Linked DNA regions of Homo sapiens: region 1 is linked to region 2. Evidence: promoter capture Hi-C in 16 types of primary human blood cells and fetal thymus (Javierre and others, 2016). All regions are on one chromosome and are shown on one strand. The core of a region is centred on a gene start or on the middle of the fragment in contact, and the rest is flanking DNA. Distances in the headings are between cores, read along the strand shown. Region 1 holds the start of RBM5-AS1 (RBM5 antisense RNA 1). Region 2 holds the start of AMIGO3 (adhesion molecule with Ig like domain 3).

The links. Contacts are between HindIII fragments. The CHiCAGO score rates a contact against its expected background, and 5 or more counts as called.
Region 1: a fragment that was not itself captured here is called in contact with the fragment with the promoter of AMIGO3 in region 2 in 1 of 17 cell types (endothelial precursors); the score reaches 5.9 in endothelial precursors.

The regions. Positions count from the first base shown.
Region 1 is chr3:50,098,950-50,101,649 of GRCh38, forward strand. RBM5 (RNA binding motif protein 5) reads left to right here. Exons shown (of 25, transcript NM_005778.4): 5 at 1,033-1,102; 6 at 1,583-1,656. It overlaps RBM5-AS1 (RBM5 antisense RNA 1), which reads right to left and starts at 2,039. Exons shown (of 1, transcript NR_045388.1): 1 at 654-2,039. RefSeq lists a silencer at 1,494-1,694. The HindIII fragment of the contact is 773 bases long and covers 998-1,770 here.
Region 2 is chr3:49,718,099-49,720,971 of GRCh38, forward strand. AMIGO3 (adhesion molecule with Ig like domain 3) reads right to left here and starts at 1,586. Exons shown (of 1, transcript NM_198722.3): 1 at 1-1,586. The coding sequence starts at 1,367. RNF123 (ring finger protein 123) reads left to right here. Exons shown (of 39, transcript NM_022064.5): 36 at 2,413-2,555; 37 at 2,702-2,796. GMPPB (GDP-mannose pyrophosphorylase B) reads right to left here. Exons shown (of 9, transcript NM_021971.4): 9 at 1,818-2,873. RefSeq lists enhancers at 552-1,359, 841-950, 1,721-1,950. The HindIII fragment of the contact is 8,800 bases long and covers 1-2,873 here.

The DNA of each region.
Region 1 (2,700 bases), core at 134-2,633, 380 kb after region 2:
GTATCATAACAGAAATTAATTGCGGCCAGGCATTGTGGCTCACTCCTGTAATCCTAGCACTTTGGGAGGCCAAGGTGGCCGGATCGCTTGAGCCCAGGAGTTCCAGACCAGCCTGGGCAACGTGGCAAAACTCTGTCTCTACAAAAAATACAAAAATTAACCAGGTGTGGTGGTGTGCATTTGTAGTCCCAGCTACTTAGGAGGCTGAGGTGGGAGGATCACTTGAGTCCAGGAAGGCAGAGGTTGCAGTGAGCTGAGATCACACCAGTGCACTTCAGCCTGGGTGTCAGAGCTAGGCCCTGTCTCAAAAAAAAAAAAGGAAAAATTAATTACACCTGAGGGAAATTCCCATGCAACATTTAATGAATGCCTTCAGTGCTGTTATAATGCATTAATTTCTATGAGAAATGTTCTCTCTTTTTTGTGCCTTTTAGGAAAATTGCATTTTGGTGATAGAAGATAAAAACTTGGCTAATTAGGCCAGGCATGGTGGGTCATGCATGTAATGATATGGGAGGCTGGCATATCACTTGAGGCCAGGAGTTCGAGACTAGCCTGTCCAACACAGTGAAACCCCGTCTCTACTAAAAATACAAAAATTAGCTGGATGTGGTGGTGGATGCCTGTAATCCCAGCTACCTGGGAGGCTGAGGCAGAAGAATCGCTTGAATCCAGGAGGTGGAGGTTGAAGTGAGCCGAGATCACGTCACTGTACTCCAGCCTGGGTGACAGAGCGAGACTCCGTCTCAAAAAAAAAAAAAAATCAGTCACGCATGGTGGTGCACACCTATAATCCCAGCTACTCGGGAGGCTGAGGCAGGAGAATTGCTTGAACCCAGGAGGTGGTGGTTGCAGTGAGCTGAGATCATGCCACTGCACTCCAGCCTGGGCAATCAAGTGAGTGAGAGACAGAGACTCCCATCTTAAAAAAAAAAAAAACTTGGCTAATTAAACAGTTGATGTAATTCCTATTCCATGGGGAATAGTGTGTGGCAAAAGCTTTAACTGTAAATAATGTAAAACCCTGTGCAGATTCGAGAAATGATGGAGTCCTTCGAAGGCCCTCAGCCTGCGGATGTGAGGCTGATGAAGAGGAAAACAGGTGAGAGCTTGCTTAGTTCCTGATATTATTGTTCTCTTCCCCATTCCCACCTCAGTCCCTAAAGAACATCCTGATTCCCCCAGTCTTCAAGCACATGAATTCAGAATGAAAGGTTTGCCATGGCTAAGGAATGTGACTCTTTGAAAACCATGTTAGCATCTGAGGAACTTTTTTAAACTTTGTTTTAGGGACTTTTTTTTCCTTAGGTAAGTAATGATTTATAAACTCCTTTTTTTTTTTGACTATAGTCGGTTGCATGGTTACTTTAAGCGTGGAATCAAATGGAGTGGCATTTAGTTCAGGCGGCTTGTTCCTTGCCATGGCAAAGTATCAAGAAGATCCCCAAGTCAAGTCACATTTGTAAAGCTGCTTCCCAATTGGCTTTGTCACGCAGTGTTGAAGCAGTGGGAGAGAGATTCACCTGTTATAAAGGAACTGACTAACACAAGTATCCCGTCTATATCTGAATGCTGTCTCTAGGTGTAAGCCGTGGTTTCGCCTTCGTGGAGTTTTATCACTTGCAAGATGCTACCAGCTGGATGGAAGCCAATCAGGTTGCTTCACTCACCAAGTCTAGATATTCATGAAAATGGAACAAGTCTGTACAATTTTAAAAAAAGGTTGAAGGAGTGGTTTGTTCCAAAGGAGTGACTTTTTTTTAAAAAAAAAGCTTTGTATATATTAAAATTGATGTTACTAGAATAAGTACAGTACCAAGGACTTCATTATAGAATTTGTTCTGCCTTTAAACATGGCTACCTACCTGGCAGGGCTTTGTTAACTACTGAATACCTGTCTGGTAATCACTAAAACATCTTAATGTTTCCCTTTTTTCTAGTTTGTTATATTCCTATTATGTCCATTGAGAGTAAGCTTAGTATATCAAACTCTCCATTTGACAGTGAAGAGAACATAGTGAAAGTCTGTGGCGGCATTTTTATAAGTAATTCCTTATTTCTGCCTGAAGACCACAAAGCCTCCTGGAGGCGTAACTGCTCAGACCGGTCTTCAGGGAATATTTAAGGACTTAGTGGAATTTATGAACAATAAGTCTGATGAGATTAGCCTGGGAGTGGTGTCCTGCAGCTGTCTAATCTAGTTAGAGTGGCATTAACATTCTAATCTCCTTGAGAATGCCTTTTATAGTCTGTTCAAAGCAAGTCATTGATGGTTCTTCGAGGTAGTGTTAACTGAAGTGTTCTTCAGTTTGTCAAGATAATGTTCAGTGCTTGGCACTTAAATAACATTTTTTGCAAGAACTCCAAGGCACATTATTGAATGCCTTTAACCAAGTGCATTCTGGGAAGTTTGCTTGACTCATTATCTTGCTTTTCTGCAGCATTCTGTGATTTGAGTCATCCATGAATCCATGAATAAAAGTTACATTCTTTGATTGGTAATATTGCCATTTATAACAAGACTCACTAATGAGGGTATCACTTTGACTGACTGATTTGTTAAAGTTTTTAAGCCTCTCATTTTCCTAACCCAGAAATCACAGCCTGATTTTATTAAAAGTAGAGCTTCATTCATTTCATACCATAGATACCATCCTAGTAAATCCAGAACATATACAAGGTTCATGTGAGTCTGCTTTC
Region 2 (2,873 bases), core at 336-2,835:
AAGACTACGTGCTTGTGGACGCTGGCCTTGCGGCTGGGTGCGTCTGGCGGTGTGGTGCTGAGTACTGAGGACTGTGCGCTCAGCTCTTGGAGCGGGCTGGGTGTTTGGGGCCAGCGGCGGCAGCGGCAGGCACGGCGGCAGCAGCGGCAGGGTGGGGCGAACAGGTAGAGCAGCACGAGCACAAGGCCCACGGCACAGCCCAGCAGTGTGGTGAAGCCTGTGTTGAAAGCCTCGGGCTCTGGGCGCGGAAAGTGCACGCTCACGTTGTACTCGTGCGTCTGGTTGTGGTGCAGGCGGGGCCCAGTGGCCAGGCACACGAAGAGTCCCGCATGCTGCTCCTGTACGTTGCCTATGGCCAAGCTGCCGTCGGCCAGCACCGCGATGCTGCCATCGCGGGATCCTGGCGCCCTGAGAAGCTCCTGCTGCGGCGAAACCCAGGCAATGCGCATGGCCGGGACGCTGGTGTTGCAGTAAAGCCTCAGGGACCGACCCACCAGCGCGTACAGGTGCTCTTCCGGCCGCTCTAGGCCAAGAGCTGGGGCCGACGAGCAGTTCTCAAAGACGCGGCTGTGCTGGAAGAAGCGCACGCGGGACGCGGGTACCTTGAAGGCCAAGCATACGTACTCGCGCGCAAAGTCGCGCACGGCGCTCAGGCCCCGCTGGTGCCAGCGCTGTAGCAGGTGGTAGAGGCGGCAGTCGCAAGGCAAAGGGTTGTTGTGCAAGTAGAGGCCGTTCTTGAGGAAGGCCGGCAGCGCGGCCAGCTCAGGTACGGAGATGTGTCCCAGCCGGTTGGAGGAGAGGTCCAGAGTAAGCAGGTGGGTGGCGCTCAGACCGTGCAGGTGGTCGAAGGAGAACGAGGCGAGTTCGTTGCAGCCCAGGTAGAGATGGCTGAGCGCGCGCAGGCCGTGGAAGGCATGCTCGTCCAAGTGCACCAAGCGGTTATTGAACAGAAGCAGCTTCTCCAGCGCCCCCAGCCCGTCGAGGTCGTGGCGGCCAAGCGCCCGCAACGTGTTAGATGATAGATCGAGCAGCCTCAGGCCGCTGGCGTTGACGAAGACGCCGCGACCCAGCGCATCTAGTTCGTTGTGGTCTAGGTGCAGGGCGCGCAGCTGGAAGAGGGGCGCCAACCAGCCGGGGCGCAGGCGCTGGAGCGCGTTGTGGCTCAGGTCGAGGTCCGCAGTAGCGGCAGGTAACTCGGCTGGCACGTCCTGCAGCCCTAGGCCAGTGCAGCTTAGCAGGTCGGCAGCGCAGATACATTTGTAGGGGCAGTTGTGGAGCGCACGGGGCGGGAAACCCTCGGAGTCCGGGGTGCCTAACCCAACGCGCAGCATGCAGAGCAGTGTCCCCAGCAGCACCAACCAGGTCATGGCGGCGACCACCAGGGACAGTACAGAGCAGCTCTGTGCAGGTTGCAGTTCCAGGACTCACCCTCTTCTGCTCTAGTGCGACATGGGTGGCACCGGATGGCCCTTGCCGAGGAGGCACGGCGGGTTCTTGCCAGCCGACGGCCCCTACTCTCCGGTTCCCAGGTTGTGAGGCGGTGCGGCACTCTTAGCCGCGCTCCCTTCGGCTTCGCTAGCCCTCTCCAAGCGAGTTCCTGATCGGCTCCTAAATACTCCCCCCAGGGGCGGGGCCCGGGCTCCTATTGGTTCCCGTTTGAGGAGGCGGGGCGGCTACATCCCTTTGTGCCCAATGGCCCCGCATGACCGCCAGATGGGGAGCAAGGCCAACCCCAAAGTCCCCGTCAGCCTTTGGCTGGCAGCTCTCCGCCGCTCGTTTTTCCTCGGGGAGTAAAAGGGGGAGTCTGGAAGAATGTCTCCAAGCTGCTGTTAGTGTTTATTTGAAGTGACTTTGAAGGACTGATAATATTATGGGGCAGGCAGACTCTCACTATCTTAAGGTGGTTCGCCTGAGCCTTCTTAAAGTGGTACCCCAGGCCGGGCGCGGTGGCTCACGCCTGTAATCCCAGCACTTTGGGAAGCCAAGGCAGGTGGATCACCTGAGGTCAGGAATTCGAGACCAGCCTGGCCAACCTGGTGAAACCCTGTCTCTACTAAAAATACAACAATTAGCCGGGCGTGGTGGTGGGCGTCTGCAATTCCAGCTACTCGGGAGGCTAAAGCAGGAGAATCACTTGAACCCGGGAGGTGGAGGTTGCAGTGAGCCGAGATCGTGCCATCGCACTCCAGCCTGGGCAACAGAGCGAGACTCGTCTCAAGAAAAAAAAAAAAAAAACAGGCTGTGTGGCACCTTACTAGAATACAGGACTTGGGGTTTGGGAAGCAGGGAGACGGAAAGGATGCAGGGGGGGTGATCATGTACGAGCCATGGCACTCCTCATTGGCAATCCCAAGAGAGACTTTTAGCCAGGCCCCAAGCCTTCTGACTGCCCTTGCACCCTCCCCTACCTAGGAGAGAGCAAGCCACATCAGTGCTCCTGGCAGATCCCTGCTTCCAGCTACGCTCAATATGCTATCTCCTGGGACAGCCAGAGCCCCCAGCACCTGGCACTGCTCTGCCAGCCCCTGACCGGAAGCGCTTCTCCCTGCAGAGCTGTGAGTGGGCTGGTGGGGCAGGTCAGGGAAATCTGGGGCTGGGTCGGGTCAGGAGCCTTAAGAACAGCAAAGTCCTAGGCTGGGAATATTCAAGAGGCATCACATCCTCAGCTACCTCTGACTTGACACTACCTACCACTCCCCAGATGCGGATTATATCAGTGCCGATGAGCTGGCCCAAGTGGAACAGATGCTGGCGCACCTGACCTCTGCATCTGCCCAGGCAGCAGCTGCCTCCCTGGTGAGTGGGAACACGGTGCACAGGTCCATGCCACTTGAATATGTGTGCACTCCTACACAGGCACAACGGACATCCAC